2 separate regions of the Homo sapiens genome follow, and region 2 is linked to region 1. Evidence: promoter capture Hi-C in human tissues and cell types (Jung and others, 2019). All regions are on one chromosome and are shown on one strand. The core of a region is centred on a gene start or on the middle of the fragment in contact, and the rest is flanking DNA. Distances in the headings are between cores, read along the strand shown.

The links. Contacts are between HindIII fragments. The study calls those that stand out against the background at their distance.
Region 2: a contact is called between a fragment that was not itself captured here and the fragment with the promoter of DOK7 in region 1, in 1 of the 25 tissues and cell types used here (mesendoderm cells).

Annotation. Positions count from the first base shown.
Region 1 is chr4:3,460,483-3,466,643 of GRCh38, reverse strand. DOK7 (docking protein 7) reads right to left here and starts at 3,338. Exons shown (of 7, transcript NM_173660.5): 1 at 3,215-3,338; 2 at 3,093-3,138. The coding sequence starts at 3,268. RefSeq lists enhancers at 186-795, 3,713-4,560. The HindIII fragment of the contact is 11,592 bases long and covers 1-6,161 here.
Region 2 is chr4:3,421,891-3,428,051 of GRCh38, reverse strand. RGS12 (regulator of G protein signaling 12) reads right to left here. Exons shown (of 18, transcript NM_001394154.1): 11 at 5,482-5,676; 12 at 5,074-5,147; 13 at 4,411-4,537; 14 at 2,492-2,588. Among named protein-coding and RNA genes, the nearest start is that of HGFAC, 17 kb to the left of the region's middle. RefSeq lists a silencer at 3,460-3,611 and an enhancer at 3,367-3,866. The HindIII fragment of the contact is 5,915 bases long and covers 1-5,178 here.

The DNA of each region.
Region 1 (6,161 bases), core at 2,089-4,588:
TGTCCTGACGCGGGGGCTGAGGGAAGGTCGCCCTGTTCTTGATGTTTCTATGGGGAGAGGATAACTGGCCACCACCCACGCCCGGTCTTCAGCCCGGAGCTGGGATGTCAGCCCCAGTCCGTTGGGGCAGGAGCCAGACGCACAGGAAATCCACCACCAGGAGGCTCTGCTCAGGAAGGGCCGACCCAGTGTCCACCCCCAGCCCCTCGTTAGCGGAGGCGCTGTGGAGGGCAGGGCCCCAGGACAGCACTAGCCGTGGGGCAGCTCCGGGGCTCACGGGGCACCTGCCAGGGGGCTCCCGGCTCCTGCGCCGTCTCCGTGGGGTCCCTCCTGCAGGCCGGGCTCAGTCCCACCGAGAGCAAGGATAGGGGAGACTAAGCAAGGGCCCAGCCATCAGCCCGGGGGCAGGCGCGGAACTTCCAGCCAGCTGTGGGGGGCAAGGTTTGGGCTGGCTGGGGGGAACTGGGCTCTGCCCAGCAGTCCATGTCTTGGGCCAGATCCCTCGGGTTTCTGAGTTTCAGCTTCCCCCCACCATGGTGACTCCAAGACCCTGCCAGCTCCAGGACTCGGGCCCTCCCGGTGGCTTTTCTGAGCTGGATGAAGCCCCCAGGGGCAGCCCCTGTGGGAAGCAGGCCCCCTCAAGTGTCTGGCCTGGGGCCACACTCTCCACAGGATGTCAAGAACACTTTCCTCACCACCCCCAGCCCCCGCACCTGGGAGGAAGAAGAGAGGGGCTGGGCCAGGCGCCGCTGGCATGCAGGGCCACCAGCAGTGAGTCCTGGGCCACAACTGGACACAGACCACCCTCCTCCCCCGGGGCCCTGCCCAGAGAGGGGACGCAGACACGCATTCCGCAGTGAGGACGCGGTGGAGACATTGAGGAACGTGGTCCCACTGCAGGGCACCCTGCAGTCCCACACCGAGGCAGACGGCCCGACGTCCACTGGCCATGCCAGGCGCTGTGGCTGAGCAGCCCTTTGATAAAAGGGTTTCCCTTTCATTCGCTAAACCTTGTCATAACAGAAAGACGTGCTCACGATTGAGAAAAACGCAAGGAGGAGAAAGGTGCCAGTGGAAAAGGTGCACATCGGGGCCCTTCCCAGAAGGAAATCACCACTGGTAACAAAAAGAACCCTGCCTGTCTTACAAGGAAGCAGACGGGACCCTTCCTCTCTCCCTCACACCAGGAGCGCAGGGTCTGTGCTGTCTGCTCCTCCAGGGCTGGGGCCTGCTCCCTCCACGCCGGGCCCATCCACAAGGGAGGTGGTCTCCAGCGCTGAGCGGGAAGGCAGCTGGGTGAAGGCAAAGGGGGCAGCATCTAGGGAGGCTTATGAGGGGCCAGGGGAAGAGGCATCAGGGCCTCTGAGCGGAGAGGAGGTGCCAGGCTGGCCTGGTCAGGGTGGGGAGGTGGGCGTGAGAACTCCGCTCTGTCCCATCCCCTCATCTGACCGACCTCTGGGCAACCCCACAGGGTGTCAGTTTCAACCCTGGGCTGCTGGAGTGACCAACACAGAAAGCAGGTGTCCAAAGCAATGGGTCCCAGGCCAGTGAGTCAGTGGGTGCTAGGGACACCTGGCCTCAAGGCTTGGAATGAACATCCACCCAGAGGGGGCATGGCACCTTCTACTACCCCACATCACCTCCCACGCCAGCCCCAGAAGGCTGCAGATCTCAACTGCGCAGGATACGGGATAACCCAGCAGACGCTCGGGAGCCACCATGTTCACCTACAGACTCACAGATTGTCCCACCTGGGGGACCCATTGCAAACTCCTGTCACTCCACTCAGGCACTCACCGGCCGGGGGAGCACACCCTCTTGAGGCTGGCAGGCCCTGCCTCCTGGGACTGTCTGATGCAGAAAGAAAATCCCTCCAACAGGGACAAAGACTTCTCCCCCGACACTCCTCTTTGGGGGCTGCTGTCCCGGGTGCCTTCCTGGGATGCGGCCTCTCTGGAGGGTCTGCACCGGCTCCAGCCCAGCACCATCCACCAAGCATCACCTGCCCCACCACGGCCCCGACCCAGCCACAGCTGACTAAAGCCTGTCATCCGCCCCAGCCTGGCAGGGCCTCTCACTCTGCCCAGACCCCATCCCTTCCTATACCAGGTCCCCTGCAGCCCCGGAGGACAAAGACGCCCTCCCAGGCTCTGTCGGTGCCCCCACAGCTCCAGGCAGGAGGTCTGGGCACGGAGGGCTGAGTGGAGAAGTGACCAGCGTGCAGTCCAGGCCCTGCAAGGGGAGGCGGAGGCAGGCAGGAAGTGCTTTCCTCCAGGACCACCTGAGGCCCTGCAGAGGGGACGCAGGAGGGATCCCTGCCCCACACCCTCCCTGGGAGTCACAGACACCCGTCCTGGAGGGTGCTCTGGCAGCCCCCTGGCGTACAGCCCCCCATGCACACAGGCCGAGCATCCCACCCAGACCCGGGCCTGGCCGGCTCTGCCGCACCTGTCCTCTGGAGCAGCTGCAGGCCCGGCTCAGCCCTCCCTACAGGCCCAGCGCTGCAGGCGGCCTGGGCTGCCAGACCTGGGGGCTCCATGCTGACCCTCCCCAAGCTGGGGTGCTGGCTCAGGGCGGGGACTGGGGGGGGACCCCTGCCTCCTCCCAGAGGACTGTTCCCCCAGCAATGTGGCAGTCACTCTGCCCTGCCCTACCGCAGCCCAGCCTCTCGTCTGCCTGGGAGGGGTCCAGGGTCAGCGCTAACCCACGCAGCACCCCTGGAGGCTGGGTTCGGGGGCCCTGCTCTGAGCGTTTCCACAAGCACAGCTCAACCCTCAGGTATGTGGGGCTTTGCTTCTGGGGGGCCCCTTGCTGCTCTGCTGGGGGGCTCAGGGCCTGCGTCCCCTCCGCCTACAGGGCCACCAGGCAGCCCCTCGGGCCTCAGTCTGCCCTGCTGGAAAGAGGGTTCTTCCGTCCAGGGCCCCCACCTGCGCTCCCAGGGGCGCCGGGGGGTCCGGGTCCGCACGGGGCTCTCGGGTTTCCCGGCGGGGTGACAGCGGCGGCGATTTTGGGCAAGCTGGCATTACTGCCCCGGGCCTCGGTAACCCGTGTCGCTACCCCCGCGCCCCCCGTCCCCCGCCCGCCCCGCTCACCTGCCACGGGCGACGGCTTCCGCAGCACCAGCCACCTACTCTTCCACTGCGGGGACAGGGGGGAGCGTGAGCCGCCGCCCGCGCCCGCGCCCCCCCCCCCCGCGCCCCCGACGCGCCCCGACCTTCTTGCCGTCCCGCAGCTTGACCTGGCCCTCCACCAGCGCCGCCTCGGTCATCTTCTGTCATGGTTCCGCGCCGCCGCGCTCGCCCCGGCGCCCCAGCCCAGGGTCACTTTCAAAATAGCTCGCAGGGCCCTGGGCTGGGCCAGGAGGGCGGGCCCGCGGGCAGGGCGGCGACACCGGCGACTCCAGGGCCGGCGCGGGCGGGGCTCCTTCTCCTGCGGGCGGCTCCCCCACCCCCACGGGCCCCTCTGGCCCCACCGTCCCGCGGCGGCCACTGGAGCCGCCCGCCCTCTGGAGCAAGCGCACCATCTGGGCTCAGACGCTCAGACCAGCGCCTGGCGGGGCGGGGGTCGGGCGGGGACTTCTTTTTCAAAAAGCAGAGACAACCACCTAGCAGACATCGGCCCCGCTCTGGGCACTGCTCCCAACTTTAAAGTTGGTCTTCAAACAATCCGGCTTCCCAGACTGGCATCTGCCCCTACCCCAGGGGTCACTAGACACCCGGACAACAGACTGGCCACAGGCAGCCCAGGCCTAGGATGCTCTCACATCCCCAGGCTTCCCCCACACTGAGGTGACCCCTCCCCAGGCAGGCAGTAGGGGTCGGGGAGCCCCTGGCAGCCTCTGTCTCTTCCTCCATTTCTGTTCCCATTAAAAGCCTGCAGGGACCCCAGTGCAGGTGGGCGGGTCCAGGACCCACAGTGCCGCCTCAGGGCCCCAGGTCTCCACCTCTTCTGCCCCCATCCCAGGCAAGAGCAGGCCCTGGTTAGGCCAGCCGGCTCCGATGGGCAGAGGAGCTGCCTGCTTTGTAAAGGACCTGCCAGCAGCCCTCCCAGCTGGGTGGACTTTGCGCTTCTGGACTCCCCCTCCTTGACCCTGTGGCTCCAGTCCAGCTGTCCCCAAGCTCTGGCCTGGGCATTAGATGTCACATCCAGGTTCTTCTGCAGAGAGGCCATGTGCTTTGGGGGACCTGGCAGGTCCGTGCCTTGGGTGTCAGCCCCATCCGAGAGACGGCCTCCACCACCCTGGGGTTGGGGACACCCAGCAGATACGGGAACAGCAGTGGGGAGGGGCGATGGCACCCTAGAAGATAAGCACCTGGACAAACAGCAAAGCTCCGTCCACATGCCCTACCCTAGACCCCATCCTCACGGGGCTGACGGTTCTCGGGGGAGAAGAAGGAAGGGGTAGACAGTGTCCCGTTAGGGAGGAGACGTCTTCATTTCATCCCATCCAGACCCTAGGCTGGGCTCTGTCTGCCTCGCACTGAGGAGCAAATGGAATCAGGGCAGCGTGAGGCCTCACAGCCAGGACTGAGCCACATCGGCTGACCTCAGAGCAGGGCTCAGAGGCATCGGGAGCCCTGGGCGCCCCTCCCCACTGCCCCTGTGATCCAAGAGACAGGTCTCCGGTGGGCCACAAGGGTTGGCTTTGGTGCTTCGGTGATGTCTTGTCAGGGCCTCATGCAAGGCGGGGGACACCAGGCCCAGGAAGCAGAATTTTGCATCCCCCACCCACCCCCGCAGTCACCTGTGCAGCCACCAGCCGCCTTCCGCAGAACAGTTGCTGGGTCACAGAGCCCCATTCATGCTCCCCACACATCCCAGGCCCCCAAGGGGCTGGCCCAGGACAGCCGGTGCGGAGGCGGGGGCCGTTGGGGCTGTAGCCACAGACACATCCGCTGCCCTGGGCGCCTGGCACTTGCTTATCCCTACAGGGAGAGGCAGGGCCCTGCTGCATTCCTGAGTGCTGGCCCGGGCCCAGGCTCCTGCCATGCCTGGCAGCTGCACCTGCTCCCACACAGCCTGGAACACACAGGATGCCGGAGGGTAGACAACTCCCTTCCCTGCTCCATGCGGCTCCAGGGCTGCTGAAAGGTGGAGGAAGCTTCCTGCAGGAGGAGGAGGTGGCCTGGCTGCCACTCCCAGACTGGCCGAGAGCGCTGTGACCCTGGGCAAGCTCCTGCCCCGCTCCGTGCCTCAGAAGTTATAGCCAGAAGTTTCCCCAGAAGTTATAGCCAGGGTTGCTGGTTGCAAATGGAGAAATAGGCTGGCCACTGAGTAGGAAGGGGTTGATTGGAAGCAAATCAGGTCTCCAAGAACCAAGGGGAAGGCTGGAGAGCTGGTAGGCAGTGAAAACAGAGCCACATCCTGAAAGAGGAGGACACCACAGCTCAGCCCCACAGCACAGCTGGGCTCCACACGAGGGGCAGGGTCACCACCTTCAAAGGAGCCCACAGTCTCAGGTCACAGCAGCACCCCTGTCTGACCACAGAGCCCTGCTGCGGCTGCCATGCTGCTGCTGGACACTGTGGCCAGGGACACTGCCATCTCTGCCAGACCCCATGGTCGTGGCACATTGCCACCCGCCAGTGGCTCTGTGGCCAAGGGACCTGTCCCTGACTAGCCACACCACCTTCAGCCACCATGTGATCTTACTGGTCTCAGCTTCCTCTTCTACCTTGATACTGTGATGAGCCCCAATGAGATGGCGTCCATGAGCATCTTTCAAAATGATCCAGGGTTTTCCAAGGTGATTCCAAGGGGATGATGGGGACCAGGGGTGGGCTGCTTTGTCTTGCATCTCCAAGTGGCCTGGTGTGTGGGAGAGAAACACGTCAGCTGAGTGTGGCAAGCACTGTACCCTGTGGTCACACCCGTTTGTGCATCCACATTTCCCAGTACCACCACCCCGCCCCCATCAGGTAAGGCTGTATGAGTGAGTTCTGGCCAGTAAGGCATGGGTGGAAGGGGTAACCAACACTTCTGGCCTGCCCATAGGATGCCTGATACAGTTCGACTGTGTCCCCACCCAAATCTCATCTTGAATTGTATTAATAATATTAGCTCCCGTAATCCTCATGTGTTGTGGGAGGGACCAAGTGGGAGGAAATTTAATCATGGGGGTGGGGTTTTCCTGTGCTGTTCTCATGAGAGTGAATAAGTCT
Region 2 (6,161 bases), core at 972-3,471, 37 kb after region 1:
AATCCATCTGAATGTTTCATAGACAACCTGCTCCTACTGTCTCTGAGAGCAAAGCTGTAGAGAAGCCACAAGGCATCTGCTGCCCTTATTCACCACGCACAGCCCTGAGGGGAGTCCCCATGGGACAGGAGAGAGGGCCCGTCCTCCACGCACACAGCCGGGCTCCGTACATCTAACTAGGGACTTGCTGGAGGAGTGATGTTGAAATTGAAAAGCTCATTTCATATACTATTTGGCATAAATATTCTCTAGAAAGTCAGAGTCTTACATTTATGACATATTTTCTTTCTCTTTTCTTTCTTTTTTTTCTTTTTTTGAGACAGAGTCTCACTCTGTCTCCCAGGCTGGAGTGCAGTGGCACGATCTCGGCTCACTGCAACCCCCGCATCCTGGGTTCAAGCAATTCTCCTGCCTCAGCCTCCCATGTAGCTGGGATTACAGGCATGTGCCACCACACCCAGCTAATTTTTGTATTTTTAGTAGAAACGAGGTTTCACCATGCTGGCCAGGCTGGTTTCGAACTCCTGACCTCAGGTGATCCACCCACCTTGGCCTCCAAAAGTGCTGGGATTACAGGCATGAGCCACTGTGCCAGTCCATGACATATTTTCAAATACAGCCTTTGCCCCATGCCAGGGCCACAGGCTGGCCTCTGCTGGCACTAACGGCCTCAAGCCCATTTCTGTGGCCCAAATGTGACTGGAGGAGTCGCGCTCCTGCCCCACATACAGCCCTACAAAAACGCTGAGCGCCAAGCTCCACCACAGGACTTGCCTGTACACAAACAAGCCCCGAGGCCCAGCAGGCCCTGGGCACAGAGGGTCAGCCGGGGCAAAGCTGCTGGCCGCCCTGCTGGGTTACACATGCTGTGCCTGCCCCACCTGCCTGGGTGGGTGTCAGGGCCCAGCGTAAGGCTTTCCCTAGAGCAAAGGGTGGGCTCGGGGAAGGGTCTCTGCTCTGTGAGGAGTTGGGGAGGGGAGCAAGAGTTGGAGCTCCAGGACTAATGGCCTCAGCGCTTGCTTCTGACTGGGACCCATGGCCCAGGTCTCCCTGGGTGGGGACAAGTGAGCCACGTGCTCCCTGCGTGACATCATCAGGGCCAACAACCTGAAAGGCAGAGGGGCAGCCCAATGTCACCTGAAGTGGCTCCTCACAAAGTGAGCTCTCTACCTAGAACATCTGCAGGTGGGTTTCCAGAAAGCTCTTTCCAAGACACACCTCCCTACGGCACCTGCACCTGCAGGCCCCAAGGCCACGCCTCTGCCTGTCCCTGGGGACAGCTACAAACAGGACCCACCCTCCTGGGTCTGAGTAACCTTCCTCACGCACGGTTCTCAACAAGGGCTCTAAGGAGGGCCGGCTCCTGCGCGTCAGGATGAGGTGGGGGCCGGGCGACGAGCCCATCTCCGAAGGCTGCTGGCCGGACCCAGCTTCCCCAGGGCAGGACTGTCATGACCAAGGCAACACGTTGGAAAGAGCTCTGTCGACCGCCCGATTCCCTGCACGCAAGGAACTGCAGAACCAGCCCAAATGACCGAGCCTGCAGCCTCCATTTTGCCGGGCAGAGCACAGGCGCCTACTGCCCTGGCTTCCTGTTTTGTGCCTGGAGGGAAGGGCGCCAGATCAGGGCACCAAGGAGGGACCAGGGGGCCCAGACCAATTCTCTTTTGTGTACTAACTCCAAAGCCTCCCCCTCCCCTGGGCCAGCCCCGCCTGCCCTCTCTCCTGCACAAGCCCCACTCACCCCCTCCCCTGCACTGGCCCCGCTCGCCCTCTCCCCTATGCCAACCCCACAGCCCCCTCCCCTGCACTGGCCCCACTCGCCCTCTCCCCTATGCCAACCCCACAGCCCCCTCCCCTGCACTGGCCCCACTCGCCCTCTCCCCTATGCCAACCCCACAGCCCCCTCCCCTGCACTGGCCCCACTCGCCCTCTCCCCTATGCCAACCCCACAGCCCCCTCCCCTGCACTGGCCCCGCTCGCCCTCTCCCCTGTGCCAACTCCACAGCCCCCTCCCCTGCACTGGCCCCGCTCACCCTCTCCCCTATGCCAACCCCTGCCCCCTACCCTGTGCAGGCCCCACAGCCCCCTCCCCTGCGCTGGCCCCACTCGCCCTCTCCCCTGTGCCAACTCCACAGCCCCCTCCCCTGCACTGGCCCCGCTCACCCTCTCCCCTATGCCAACGCCACAGCCCCCTCCCCTGCACTGGCCCCGCTCGCCCTCTCCCCTATGCCAACGCCACAGCCCCCTCCCCTGCACTGGCCCCGCTCACCCTCTCCCCTATGCCAACGCCACAGCCCCCTCCCCTGCGCTGGCCCCACTTACCCTCTACTCTGTGCAGGCCCCGCCCACCCCCTCTCCTGCGCAAGCCCCACCTGCCCCTCCCCTGCACTGGCCCCACTCACCCCCTCCCCTGCACCGGCTCCATAGCCCCCTCCCCTGCACTGGACCCACTCACCCTCTCCCCATCCGCTGCACCAGCCCTACTCACCCTTTCCTCTGGAAGGATCCTTCTCCTCCAAGACAACCCGCTGTCCGTCCAGACTCGATATAGGGGCGCCAAGGTCCAGGGGCTCCTTCTCTCCACTCTAGGGCAGAGATCAGCACTGAATAATTTACCCAGACTGGAACTTCAGGGAACAGATGTGTGTGATCCCACCCGACTGCATGACTGTCCTAGGCTTGATGGAGTCACGCAGGAGATGGCCCCGAGGTGAGGCCTGCCTGACTGAGGCACACAAGCTGGGGCTGAGCCATGCTCCTGACATGGGTCCCGACTACACGACCATCCTAAGCTCGATGGAATCACGCAGGAGGTGGCAACCCTTGGTCGCTGCTACAAGGGGAACACTGACCCTCGGACGCTGCTATGAGGGAAATACTGACCCTCGAAACTGCTATGAGGGGAATACTGAGAGCAGATGTTCCCCTTTGTAAACAAGGAAGCAAAGACAGACAACTTTAGGACCAGGTTTGAGGCTGAAATGAAGCGCCACTAGCCACCGGGCTGGAGTTCTTGTCTCTGCATCAGAGCTCTCCTCTGGCAGAGAATCTGACTCTTCACCTGCCATAGTCACTGTTAAGAAAAGACATCTGAACATGTTTGGCATTCACGATCTGTCAGTCAGGGGAATGACAGCTGTCCAATGCCAGGCGGGAGAGGCTCTAAGCTCCTGAAGGGGCTGGTCCGCTGGGCAGGCGTGGTGGGCCCTGCGGGGGAAGCAGAGGAACTGCCCCAGGTCCCGCCTTCTCCACCACATTCGTGGACACAGGGGGCCACAGAATTCACTGGAGAGGTCAGGAGACAGCGTCCAAGGAAAAGCCACATCCCAAACAACCCATTCCACACGAATCCTCCATAGCCCCCACAGCCTCGGCAGCCGAGGGCCGCAGCTCACAGGGAACGAGCCTGACCGCAGCCAGCCCTTCCACCCTGGTGCCCCCCAACCATGCCACGAGCACGCTGCCACGACCAACCCCATTTTACAGTCAGGGAAACTGTGACACACAGGGGCTAAACAATTGCGCAGCGTCTCCCCAGAGTCGGCCAGAGGGGCACACCTGGGAGCCAGGCCAGGTCTGTCTCCCACCTGCAGATTTCTGGACTCCAGGATGGAGCCTGCAGCGCGGGGAAGAGGCTTCAGGTTACCCTCGGAGGTGGTGTCTGTAAATAATTTAATAGGTTCTTCTTGTTCACTTCAAAGCTCTTGAATAATTTTGAGTGTAGTTTCAGGGAAAACTAAAATCCTGAAAATACTTGAAATCATTGCTCCAATAAAGTTTTCAAGGAAAGAAGACTAGGCAGACACTGTGCCCGGAACCCCCACGCTCCAGAGCACCCTCAGCGGGGCCCAGCTCTCGCCATCTCGCGTGGCCTGCCCAGCACCTGCGGTCACCACCCCACGCGGTGTTTTCTTTCTTAACCCCATTCACATCATAATGGCGCAGCCTGGAAATGCCAGCTGAGTTCTTCCATCTACAAAGTGCAGGTGAGAATCAGGACATCTCCATGTGACCGTGCACTGGGGGCATGAGCACAATGCCCGGGCCCAGCAGGTGCAGTGGGGGCAGGGCCATCCGCACTCTCTTATCTGATCACATTGGCCAACAGCGGAGGATAGTCCAGGGTTGGTTGCTTTGTTTCTCATTTTGGCCTCCCTGGAGCAAAACCACCTCTCAAATATCAATTCTTTTTGGAATGACCAAGGTACAAATAAACCATGATGGCTCCCACTGCACAGAACGAGAACTGGGGATGGCAGAGGCTGTCTCCTCTCCTCCAAGGGGGACAACCAGATCAGGGGAAGACACCGCTTCTTGGTGTGCCCTCTTCAGTGAACAACACAGAGGCTGCCAAAGGGAACAGACAGTGCCTGCGGTGACGACGCCCGGGCCCCGTGCAACACTCACCAGCCTCACCAGCAGGCCACTGAGGTCCAGGCCGTATCTGGCCACCACGGGCCGCAGCACCTCCGTGACGGGCTTGGTGGGCTTGGCCTTGAGTCCCACTGACCGGTTAATCGGAACAAGATCCAGCCTGGTGGGGGATGAAAAAATTCACTACCAACTCATGTCAGCCCTCATTAGGAGATCAGTCTCACGAGCAGAACTACAGCACAGCCCCAGGCCGCCCTCAAGGCCTCGGTGTGCCCCCCAGTTCAGCCCCAGCTGATCAGAACGTGCCTTCCTCCACGTGGGAAAAGTCAGGCCAAGCAAGGGCTATGGTCTCCTCCTCCAGGGATAGCAGTGTCCTGCACAGCAGCCTGGCTACCTGTGGGGCATCCACCCTACAGAGAGCACTCCTGCCCCTCCCTCTCGGCATCTTAGGGGGCTGGGCTCACCAGGCCAGGGCAGTCCCTGTTCACGGGACAGGGAGGAGAGGGCGCCTCTCACCCCCGGGCTTGTAGGGGGGCTGCCTCGTGTGGGCCTCCACCCTCCCCCCGCCCCGACACCCCATCGTAGCCCAGCATGGAGCATCCACAGGCCGCCCGCTAAGCGCAGAGACCAGCAGGTGGTGGGCACACGGGGTTGGCTCTGGGAGCCTCAGGTGAATGACAGCGATCTTCCTCTTACCGAAACAAGGTGCGCTTTTCTAGGCGCAGGTCCCTTGACTCCAAGATGCTACTGTCTTGGTGCAGCACCAGAGGCTGAGGAACAGAGAGACCAGAATCAACGTGGGCACAGCAGGCAGCCCCCCAAACGCAGACCCACGTGCCCCAGGCACACAGCTGTGCAGAGCAGAAGAGCAGCTTCAAAAACAGCCATCCAAAGAAAGCGATCACCCTTTCCACACCAACCCAGCACCCACGTGCAAAGTGCTCCCAGCAGATAGCTCAGTTCAGATAATCCGGCCTCCGCCCCAGGCGCTGTTGAAATGAGGAGCGCAGGAGGGGGCAGCCTGAGGACTCTGACAAAGCTGGGGGCCAGGGAGCGGGGAGGTCATGGCCTGAGGGCAGCACGAGGGTCAGGCGGGCCCAGTACCTTGTCCCCGCCCACCAGGAAGAGGTCCGCGGCCGCCCCGTTGATGCCATGCCGCTCACAGAGTCCGGACAGGATGTCTTTGATGGAGAAGCCCGCCTTGACAGCCACCACGCAGGATGTCCCATCCGGGAGATGAATGCAGCAGTGCTTGGTGGCCTTGTCCTTCTCGGGTGCCAAAGTCCTGCAGGCCTCCGACTGGGGAGCAGCGAGACAAGCAGCCGTGAGGGAACCAGCGTCACAGGGGTGCGGGGCACCTCCCAGAGCAGCCCAGCTGGCCCAGGCCGCACGTGCTGGGGAGGCTGGCGCCCTGCCACGGTCCCACCTGCAGCTCCCCAGGTGCACACATCTCAGGCTCAGTCCACACTGCCTGAGGTGCTGGGTTTTGTGAATTAACACGAGAGAGCGGTCATCATTCTCTCAGCTCTGGGCCTCAAGGGCCATCGTGCTCAGAAGGCACATCTGGGCTTCTCCACCCAGAAGCAGGGCTGTCCTGCGGGGCCCACTGAAGCTGCCCTGTGAGGACCACTCCCTCCCAGGGCTCTGGGTTCCAGCACCCTGTCCTCTCTATACACAGCTCCCCATGCACATCGTTCCAATGGAAACGTCGCCTGGACTGTGACTTCGTCGGCACTGCCTTCCGGTAGTCTGAGGTCTCTTTTCCCTGAGCATTATTTCAGGAA